Linked DNA regions of Homo sapiens: region 2 is linked to region 1. Evidence: promoter capture Hi-C in 16 types of primary human blood cells and fetal thymus (Javierre and others, 2016). All regions are on one chromosome and are shown on one strand. Each heading gives the region's core, a stretch centred on a gene start or on the middle of the fragment in contact. The rest is flanking DNA. Distances are from core to core; before and after follow the strand shown. Region 1 holds the start of RCE1 (Ras converting CAAX endopeptidase 1). Region 2 has its middle 13 kb from the start of SLC29A2.

Evidence for each region. The method cuts DNA at HindIII sites, captures the fragments that hold promoters and counts their contacts. A CHiCAGO score of 5 or more calls a contact.
Region 2: a fragment that was not itself captured here is called in contact with the fragment with the promoter of RCE1 in region 1 in 1 of 17 cell types (erythroblasts); the score reaches 5.1 in erythroblasts.

What each region holds. Positions count from the first base shown.
Region 1 is chr11:66,841,330-66,846,606 of GRCh38, reverse strand. RCE1 (Ras converting CAAX endopeptidase 1) reads right to left here and starts at 3,166. Exons shown (of 8, transcript NM_005133.3): 1 at 2,967-3,166; 2 at 2,746-2,848; 3 at 2,568-2,651; 4 at 2,243-2,321; 5 at 1,571-1,738; 6 at 1,370-1,441; 7 at 1,045-1,107; 8 at 55-747. The coding sequence starts at 3,151. The coding sequence ends at 512. It overlaps TOP6BL (TOP6B like initiator of meiotic double strand breaks), which reads right to left. Exons shown (of 15, transcript NM_001302084.2): 14 at 3,538-3,758; 15 at 3,091-3,438. The coding sequence ends at 3,373. RefSeq lists an enhancer at 2,589-3,295 and silencers at 2,936-3,375, 3,486-3,625, 4,843-4,969. The HindIII fragment of the contact is 21,944 bases long and covers 2,401-5,277 here.
Region 2 is chr11:66,382,142-66,387,418 of GRCh38, reverse strand. No RefSeq gene overlaps it. Among named protein-coding and RNA genes, the nearest start is that of SLC29A2, 13 kb to the right of the region's middle. RefSeq lists enhancers at 947-1,241, 3,865-4,365, 4,366-4,866. The HindIII fragment of the contact is 6,213 bases long and covers 221-5,277 here.

The DNA of each region.
Region 1 (5,277 bases), core at 1,917-4,416:
GGTGGGCACACTCCCAAGAGCTGCCTAGAGTCTTCACACAAGATCCCAAATAGACCGATTCCCAAAGGCCCAAGGCCATGTTACCCAAGTTAAATCTCTTTAATATCCCAATACAAAGTACTGATGCAAAAAGACAATGAGAAAACCCAGGAAGTTGGGGGGTGGGGGGTGGGGAGAGGTTTTATAAATAAAAAACCCCGAGCAGCTTTTCAGAGGCAGAGGAGCTAAGAGAAGCAGCAGTCCAAAGTGAGGAAGGGAGTGTGTGGCTCCTGGGACCTGCCCCTTGTCCCCTCACTCACAGCTGCTCGTAAACACCCCTTTCAAAAGGGGCTGCACCCTTTGGATATCTGCTTCTTTCTCTTGGTCCCTGGGACGCAACTAGCTCTGGCTTCAATCCCCTACAAAAATTCCTGAGATCTCGGGGACCCCAGCCAGCCCTTCCCCTGCAGTACCCCTTGGTGGGGAGGGCTGGGGAGCCGGTGAGAGTTCATAGCGTATCCAGGAGCATAGGTCAGGAGCACAGGGGAGCCTCTGAGTCCCCTGCCCGCTCCAAAAGCACACAAAGGGGAAGGCTGCCGTAGAGCTTGGGGTCCGTGAGGGGCTGGAGCAGAAGCAGGAAGAGTCCCACACCCAGGGCATAGCCTGCCAGCAGGGGCCGCCTCTGTGGGTGCTCCAAGGCCGCGCAAACAGCTGGGAAACCCATGTAATTGCAGAAGGAATGGCAGAGAACCGGCCCAATCAGGTGTCCTGGGGAAAAGAGACAGCAGCTCAGGGAGCAGCCCTACCACCTCCTCTGGCCCTTCCAGGGCTAGTGACCCTCATCCCCTGAAACAGGAGATCAAGATCCCACTACCCCAGCCATCCACCCACACACCACGGCCTCTGCTCCTTTCCACCTCTCAGACCTCACCAGGCTGAGGGCTCTGGCTCAGCCTGTCTCAAGGACTGGAGTAGAAGAACTTTTGTTCCTAGAACAAACAGTATTCCCATTCTCCCACCCGCTCCTGTGGGCCCCCAGGGACCCATGAGGGACTGAGGACCAACCTGTGCGGATGAAGAGGAAAGCAGTGTAGGCACCGAAGACAGCTGTGTAGGAGAACTGGAACGCTGGAGACGGGGAGGCCACGAGTGACCACACCTGCACGCCCTTCCTGCCCCCACACTACATACCCATCAGCCAAAGACCGACCATCCCCTCCCCCCGGGGCAGTAGCTGCCTGCCCCACCACCTACAGCTGTCCTGCACCCCAACTTCCCACGGTCAGTGGCCTCTCCAATACTGTGGCCCTCAGTTCCCAATTCCTTCTCCAGAGTGGCCATTAGCGACATCATCATACACCCTAACCCAGGCCAGCTAGCCAGGACTCACCAGCAGACAAGAAGATGTTCCCCACGCTGCTCTGGCGGAAACGCAGCTGCTCAATAATATGGTGAAAATGGGCTGGGAAAAAGGTGACAATCACATCACAGTCATTCCTCCCAGCCTCCCTTCTAGGACTGCCCCTCACCTCAAGCCCCCTTCTGAGCTCTCATGCTGAAAACACACCAGGACTAATCTGGCCAGACTCACCAACTCCAAAAAAGAGCGGGCAGGTGAACACAGCAGGGCCCAGGCCCATGCACGGTGCTAACATGGGCAGCATACAGGCCCGGAACACCAGCTCCTCTGTCAGCGGGGCGATCACTTGGTTCCGCAGCCAACGCATGTCTGTGAGGCAGCGGGCCCAGGAGCGGGGGGCTGCAGAGGGAATTCAGGACAAGCTGTGAGTGACGGGCTGTCAGACAGTGAGACCCCAGAGGCTCCAAGGGCTCCTCTCCCACAACTTTACCCTGGCCAAACTCAGGTTAGGCATCAATACTGCTGAGGACGGGGGTGTGGACCCAACATAAACCCAATGTCTTGAGATGACCTGAATGGAAGGCATTAGCTGAGGCAAGGGCATCCTGGAAGTAAACTCTGGAGACACCAAAATTTAAGCAAGACTAGCTCTGGTTGGGGAAGCAGGGGACAGTGCTCTCTGATCCACACCAAATACTGCTGGGGGTTCCCAGGGAACTCCTTGGACGTTGGCAATCAACCCTTAGAGGCCACCTAGCTCTATGTTTCCATTTTACTGATGAGAAAACACACCCAGAGAGATGACATTTCACGTGTCCAGATCACACCCTGAGCCCGCTGACTCCCTGCCCCAATGTCCTGGACTGCCTGTGCCTACTTTTCCCTTCAGCCTTTAAGACTCACCCAGGACAACCTTCAGCCCATCTGCCAGGTCACAAGGGCAATCCATAGAGAGCTGCATCAGTGGGCCCAGGAAAAGAATCTGAGGGCAAGAAAACACTTTCACCATAACCCACCGCTTTTGCCCAGACCTTTGCCCATGCTCCCTGAGACTCCAAGCTTGAAATCCTCTCCAGCCACGATTTCCAGACCATGCATACCGGAGGACCCTGGGGCCATCTCAAAAGTCCTGTCTCCCATCAACCAAAAACCAAAAACAAGAGTCCACGGCACTGCCCATCAGGCTGATAACAAAGACCAGAAGAAAAAATACAGCAGGAGCACTCACCATGGTCAGCAACAGGGGCAGCAGCGCCGCTGGGAAAATGCCCTCCAGCCTGAAGCCCATCAGGGTGAGCAGGGATGTGCCTGGCTGAGCCACAGGAAAGGGGGCATCAGTTTTGCTTCCTCCCCTAAAGACCCCTGAGCTCTCACCGCCGTTGCCCTTTGCCCCGCCTCCTTCGCACCTGGATGCCTGTGAGTTCCCTCCAGAGCAGCACGCACAGGGGTGAGAGACTGGACACCACCAGGACGCTGGTGAAGCGTCGCTTGATGACCGCGGGATGGTCCCTACGGAGGGGACAGTAAGTTCAGGGGGCCCGCGGCTGCCCATGAGCACGGACCCGCCCCCGGCTCGCCCAAGCTCCGCCCGCAGGGCGCGGATTCCGGTCGCGCGCAGCCCCCGCACCTGGGCAGTTCGCTCTTCCAGACGTAGAGGCTGCCCACGTAGGAGCAGGCGAGGCTGAGGCAGGAGAACACTGACACCCAGCAGCACAGCCCGGGGCCCAGGCCGCCCAGCGCCGCCGACTCGGGCGGCCGCTCCGGCCGCGACACCGACAGCAGTCGCAGCCCATCCCCGCCCAGCGCCGCCATTGCGCCCTGACCCGCGGCGCGCACCAGTGACGCAGTCCCAGGGAGGTGTGGGTGACGTCAGGCCGCGGCGCGGCTCCACGCCCCGCCCCGCCCCGCCCGGGCCCGACGCGGAAGCAGACGCGGAAGAGGACTTGGTGAGCGCGCGGCAGCTTTATTAAACCACGGGATAACGGCTGCCCGCAGCCTCCGGATCGGTGGGCGCTTGCGGAAGGGGACCCGGCTCAGGGCCCAGGGCTGGGACTCAGCCACTCTGACAGGTTGGAGACCTCCTGCAGCCACAGCACGTCCTGCGGGAACAAGGGGGCCCGGGGTGAGGACCTCTCAGCAGCGGCCCGTGGCCTGCACCTCCTGCTGAGCCCTTCCCTGCGCGGCCCTCGCCCAGTTACCTCCAGGCGGCTTCCGAGGCTCGCCCTGCCCGGCGCCAGGGCCCTGCCGTGAGCCTCGCGGTGCTCCCTTCCTCTAGGAGTGAGGGGGGCCGCGGTGGCTTCCGGGCGGCGCGGGGCGGCCTCTGACGGGCTCGGGGCCCTGGCAGAGCGCAGAGCTCGCATCTCCTCTATGCGGGGGCTGCCCCTCTTGAGCCTCTTGTTTTCTGCTTGCCCGCTGGTATCTAGGAGAAAAACAAGCCTCTTCATCTTACTTTCATGGCCCTGTGCTAGGAGCACCCTTGGCCAAGGGGAAGCCTGGGAGAACGGGCGCCGAGGGGCTCTTCCCACCGCATCCCTGTCAGCAGGTCCCATCCACACCAAAACCCTGCAGCTGTGGGCGCTTCTGGAGCAGCCCGAGGCTGCAGAGACGTTTCAGGGTCTCCCTATTCTCTCACCCAGGCGGGAGATTGTCCCGAGCCCTCACTTGGGGGACTCAGGCCGCTCAGTAACTTTCTGTATAGATTCTTCCTGGAGTCTGCACTGACAAGCTCCCCTCCCTGCCAGCCTCTGTCCCCCCTCACCTTTCTGGCCTCAGTTCTGTCTCCCTTTGTTGCTCACGTTGCATTGAGCAGTGCCCATAGGCAGCTTTCCTACTCTTAACTGATTCATTTGTCAAATTAAAGCGAGTTTAGATGGATAGATTCTTCCCCAGCAGGTCTTGGGGATGCAGATCAATGAGCTTTTCCCTGAGAGAAGCTCACAGATGCTAGGAGGGGATGCAGACCTGTGTACAAAGCCCAGGGTTAGAATAGAGAAGGAAGCCGACCACCTCTGGATGTGAAGAAGGGTTTCCATGAGGAGATACCTGAGCTGACCTTTTGTTTTTTTGAGACAAGGTCTTGCTCTGTTGCCCAGGCTGGAGTGCAGTGGCTCAGTCCTGGCTCACTGCAGCCTCGACCTCCTGGGCTCAAGCGATCCTACTGCCTCAGCTTCAGCTTCCAGAGTACCAGGAACCACAGGCGCATGCCACCACACCGGCTAATTTTTTTTACTTGTAGAGACAGGGGTCTCACCGTGTTGCCCAGGCTAGTCTCAAGCTGTCCTCCCGCCCCAGCTCCCCAAAGTGACGGTATTACAGGCATAAGTCACCACTCCTGCCCCAGAGCTGGGTTTTGAAGGATGAAGAGTGATATGCCAGACAAGGGAGAGAAAGGGAATTTCTTGCTGAAAGTTAACACAAACCTTATGCAAAGGCATAAAACAACTTCCTATGTAAATTTTTACTTTTTAAAGATGAGGTCTCGCCTGTCACCTAGGCTGGAGTGCAGTGGCGTGATTGTAGCTCACTGCAGCTTTGAACTCCCGGCCTCATCCTCTCGAGTAACTGGGACTAAAGGCACACACCACCTTGCCTGGCTAGAAACAGATTTTCATCTGTAGAAGACAGGAAGCCAATAAAGAGTTTTAAGCACTGGTGAAATATATTGGTAATTTTGTACTTCAGAAAGATCGTTCTTTCAAAGGTGTGGCTTAGATCAAACTAGAGACAGGAAGACCTTAAGAGCCCAATAACAAGTAAAGACAGTGGAGATAGAGGCGTCACCAGGAATCAGAAGTGTTCATCAGGCCTAAGTGATAGGCCTTTGTGAGCGCCTGGATGTGGGAGAGGCCTCTTGGCCGGGCGCGGTGGCTCATGCCTGTAATCCCAGCACTTTGGGGGGCCGAGGCGGGCAGATCACGAGGTCAGGAGATTGAGACCAG
Region 2 (5,277 bases), core at 2,078-4,577, 460 kb after region 1:
AATCCTCCCACCTCAGCCTCTCAAGTAGCTGGGACTACAGGTGCATACCACCAGGCCAGGCTAATTTTCTGTATTTTTGGTAGAGACAGGGTTTTGCCGTGTTGCCCGGGCTGGTCTGGAACTCCCAAGCTGAAGTGATCCTCCCACCTCGGCCTCCCAAAGTGCTGGGATTACAGGCCTGAGCCACTGCGCCCAGCCTGTTGAGACTTATTATAAAGCTTCTACCCAGAAACATGAGTTAGCCCCTAAAGGAGGTAATGCTTTTGATGGCTGTCTGCTCATTCTTGCTCATGGGAAGTTGTTTCTTCATATGGCTGTGAGCATGTTGAGAAGGGCTGTGTTCCACCAAAGTGTTCTTGTAGTTGCTTCTGCTGTTTTAGTCTGTTAGAGCTGCTGCAACAAAATACCATAGACTGAGTGGCTTGTAAACAACAGAAATTTATTTCCCAAAGTTCTGGAGGCTGGGAAGTCTAAGATCAAGTCACTCTCAGGTTCTTTATCTGGTGAAGACCTGTTTCCTGGTTCACAGATTGCACATTCTCACGTGTTCTCACATGATGGAAGGCGTGAGGGAACTCCCTGAAGCCTCTTTTATACAGACGCCATTCCATTTATAAGGAATCTACCTTCATGATCTAATCACCCCCCTCCATAGTATCACATTGATGATTATGTTTCAACACATTTATTGGAATAGGAGGACAAAAACTCAGACCATGATATAGAAACAGCCTGGGATTAATTTTTATGATAATGTATCAGCTTGAATTTCCCACGGAATAGACTGATTTAGGCTCCTTGCCCGCCTGGAGATTAGGAAACCTTGTTTTATTCCCAGCCAAGGCAACAGCTGAGATGAGCTTCCCGGTTGCCTCCCTGGCCAGTGGGAAGTTTACTGGTCTTCCTTACAAAGTGATTGCAGCCCTTCAAGGGTTCTGGCTTTGTGCAAGGATCTTATTTCTAATTTATCGACCGTCAAAGCCCGAGATTCCATCTTCCGTTCCTGAATGAGGTTAAAAACCGATCTTTCGCCCTTGGGGAACTCGTAAGCAAATGTTCGACTGCCCCCTTGTGGACACTCCTGGCAAGGCCGAGCTGGTCTTTTTAGCCAAGCTGTTTTTGTTTTTCTTTGAGATGTAGTCTCGCTCTGTTGCCCAAGCTGGAGTGTAATGGCGCAATCTTAGCTCAGTGCAACCTCCGTCTCCCGGGTTCAAGCGATTCTCTGGTGATTAACAAATTAGAGTGGTAGACACCCCCTCCCGGCCATCCATCTATAATCTGAGCTCTGGAGGACCCTAGGATGTGAAATCGTGTGATGTTCTTGGTTCCTGTCCCTCTGCTTATGTGTGTGTGTGTATATATATCTATATCTATATATATAGATATATAGATATAGATATAGATATTTGTTTTGTTGTTGTTGTTTGTTTGTTTTTTAAGAAACATGGTCTTGGCCAGGAGCGGTGGCTCACGACTGTAATCCCAGCACTTTGGGAGGCCAAGGCAGGTGGATCACCTGAGGTCAGGAGTTGGTGACCAGCCTGGCCAACATGGTGAAACCCCATCTCTACTAAAAATACAAAAATTAGCCAGGCATGGTGGCTCTTGCCTGTAATCCCAGTTACTCGGGAGGCTGAGGCAGAAGAATAGCTTGAACCTGGGAGGCGGAGGTTGCAGTGAGCCCAGATGGCGCCACTGCACTCCAGCCTGGGCAACAGAGAGGGACTCCATCTCAAAAAAAAAAAAAAAAAATTACATTAGCTGGACATGGTGATACATACCTATAGTCCCAGTTTCTCAGGAGGCTGAGGTGGGAGGATTGCTTGAGCCCAAGAGTTCAAGGCTGCCATGAGGTATAATCACACCCCTGCACTCCAGCCTGGCAACAGAATGAGATTCTGATTATTAAAAAAAAAAAAAAAAAAAAAAAAGGCCAGGCGCGGTGGCTCATGCCTGTAATCCCAGCACTTTGGGAGGCCAAGGCGGGCAGATCGCCATGTCAGGAGATCGAGACCATCCTGGCTAACACGGTGAAACCTCGCCTCTACTGAAAATACGAAAAAAAAATTAGCCGGGCGTTGTGGCAGGCGCCAGTAGTCCCAGCTACTCAGGAGGCCGAGGCAGGAGAATGGTGTGAACCCGGGAGGCGGAGCTTGCAGTGAGCCGAGATCGTGCCACTGCACTCCAGCTTGGGCGACAGAGCAAGACTCTGTCTCAAAAAAAAAAAAAAAAAAGCCTGTCACATGTCACAGGGCCATGGAAGCCAACTTGAAAGAAATTCCAGCAGCCAATGCTGGAACAATTTGAGCAACAAAGTAAATAGCATGGTATTGAATTATAAGTCAAAGTATGAAATATATCCACATGAGTCTATACTGATCATACTGATATAAAATAATTGAATAAATAAGCAAATAGGGGAGAAGAGACAAATCATCCTTACAGAAGAATTTCAAATAATATGTAATATATAGAGATACTCCTTAATCCAAGAGGTAGAGCTTAGTACCATCCTCCTGTAACTGTAGGCTGGACTTAGCAACTAGCCTCCAAAGAATAGGGTATGGAAAGGACAAATAATAACTTTTTTTTTTTTGAGACGGAGTCTTGCTCTGTCTCCCAGGATGGAGTGCAGTGGCATGATCTCAGCTCTCTGGCTCCCAGTTTCAAGCGATTCTCCTGGCTCAGCCTCCCAAGTAGCTGGGACTACAGGGGTGTGCCACCATGCCTAGCTAAGTTTTGTATTTTTAGTAGAGACGGGGGTTTCACCGTGTTGGCCAGAATGGTCTCGATCTCTTGACCTCATGATCCGCCCGCCTCTGTCTCCCTCCCAAGCTAGGATTACAGGCGTGAGCCACCGTGCCCGGCTGACAAATAGTAACTTTATACTAGATAAACTTGGCAAACGTGACTTAACCAGGTGACCAAAGTCGACATCAAGAATATCTGCATAGGCCAGGTGCAGTGGCTTATGCCTGTAATCCCAGCACTTTGAGAGGCCAAGGCGGGCGGATTGCTTGAGCTCAGGAGTTTGAGAACAGCCCAGGCAACATGGTGAAACCCTGTCTCTACCAAAAATACAAAAAATTAGCCGGGCATGGTGGCGTGCATCTGTAGTCCCAGCTACTCAGGAGGCTGAGGTGGGAAGATGGCTTGAGCCTGGGAGGTGGAGGTTGCAGTGAGCCGAGATCATGCCACTGCACTCCAGCCTGGGTGACAAAGTGAGACCCCATCTCAAAACAAAAACAAAAACAAAAAGAATCCGCAGAGAAAAACCACCATCAGCAAAGTCAAGTGACAAACTAAGAAAAAATTCACAACTCGTATGACACACAAACGTTTAATTTTCCCAAAATAAAGACCTCTTGCCGGCCGGGTGCGGTTGGCTCACGCCTGTAATCCCAGTACTTTGGGAGGCCACCTCTTGCCGGCCGGGTGCGGTGGCTCATGCCTGTAATCCCAGCACTTTGGGAGGCCAAGGTGGGTGGATCATGAGGTCAGGAGATCGATGCCATCCTGGCTAACTCTGTGAAACCCCGTCTTTACTAAAAATACAAAAAATTAGCTGGGCGTGGTGGCAGGCGCCTGTAGTCCCAGCTACTTGGGAGGCTGAGGCAGGAGAATGGCATGAACCCGGGAGGCGGAGCTTGCAGTGAGCAGAGATTGCGCCACTGCGCTCTCCAGCCTGGGCGACAGAGCGGGACTCCGTCTCAAAAAAAAAAAAAAAAAAAAAAGACCTCTTGCCATTCACTATTAAGAAGCAACAAAAAGAGCAACAACCCAGTAGAAAAATGGACAAATAACAGAAACAGTTCTCAGAAAAAGAGGCTTTTAAATAGATTAGCTTGAACCATATATAAAGTTGCCAATATTGACTTTTGACTTATAAAACTGACAACTTTATATGATTTAACTATTAAAAGTTGCTAACCCACAGCAAAAGGTTAATGCCAATTGAAACTATACTGATACCAGTTTCCACCTACAGTTTGGTTAAGAACAAAACATTTAGGCTGGGCACGGTGGCTCACGCCTATAATCCCAGTACTTTGGGAGGCCGAGGAGGGCAGATCGCCTGAGGTCAGGAGTTCGAGACCAGCCTCACCAACTTGGTGAAACCCCATCTCTACCAAAACTACAAAAAATTAGCCAGGCGTGGTGGCGCGCTGCTGTAATCCCAGCTACTCGAGAGGCTGAGGCAGGAGAATCGCTTGAACCCAGGAGGCAGAAGTTTCAGTGAGCCAAGATCGCCCATTGCATTCCAGCCTGGGCAACAAGAATGAAACTCTGTCTCAAAAAAAAAAAAAAAAAAAAAAAAAAGTGCTAGGTGCAGTGGCTGACACCTATAATCTCAGCACTTTGAGAGGCTGAGGTGGGCGGATTACCTGAGGTTGGGAGTTCAAGACCAGCCTGACCAACATTGAGAAACCCCGTCTCTACGAAAAATACAAAAAAAAAAAAATTAGCCAGGCGTGGTGGCGCATGCCTGTAATTCCAGCTATTCAGGAGGCTGAGGCAGAGTTGCTTGAACCCGGGAGGCAGAGTTGCTTGAACCCGGGAGGCAGAGGTTGTAGTGAGCCAAGATCGCGCCATTGCACTCCAGCCTGGGCAACAAGAGCAAAACTCTGTCTCAAAAAAAAAAAAAAAAAGAACAAAACATTTAACAACATCCTGCTGGCTGGATAACAGGCACCAACATATATAGCTGGTGGAACTGTGAACTGGTGCAATCTCTGTGGAGAGCAATTTAGCAGCATCTATTAAAATTACAGGTGTAAAAAAAATTTAGCTGTATATATCCTCGAAAGCATTTCCACTTCTAGGAATTTCACCTACAGATAAACTCCCAAATGTTATTCATTGCACCATTATTTATAATAACAGATGAATGGAAATCATCTATTTTATTTTTGTGTTTGTTTTTGTTTCTTGTTTATTTTATGCTTTTTTTTCTTTTTGTACTTTTTTCTAGATTGGAAACAATCTAACGTAAATGTCCATCGATAGGGGACTACTTTTTTTTTTTTTTTTTTGAGATGGAGTCTCGCTCTTGTTGCCCAGGCTGGAGTGCAGTGGCGCAATCTCGAGTCACTGCAGTCTCCACCTCCCGGGTTCAAGCGATTCTCCTGCCTCAGCCTCTCAGCCTTTTTTCTTTTTTCTTTTCTTTTCTTTTTTTTTTCTTTTCTTTTTTTAAGACGTAGTCTCGCTCTGTCACCCAGGCTGGAGTGCAGTGGCGTGATCTCGGCTCACTGCAAGCTCCGCCTCCTGGGTTCCCGC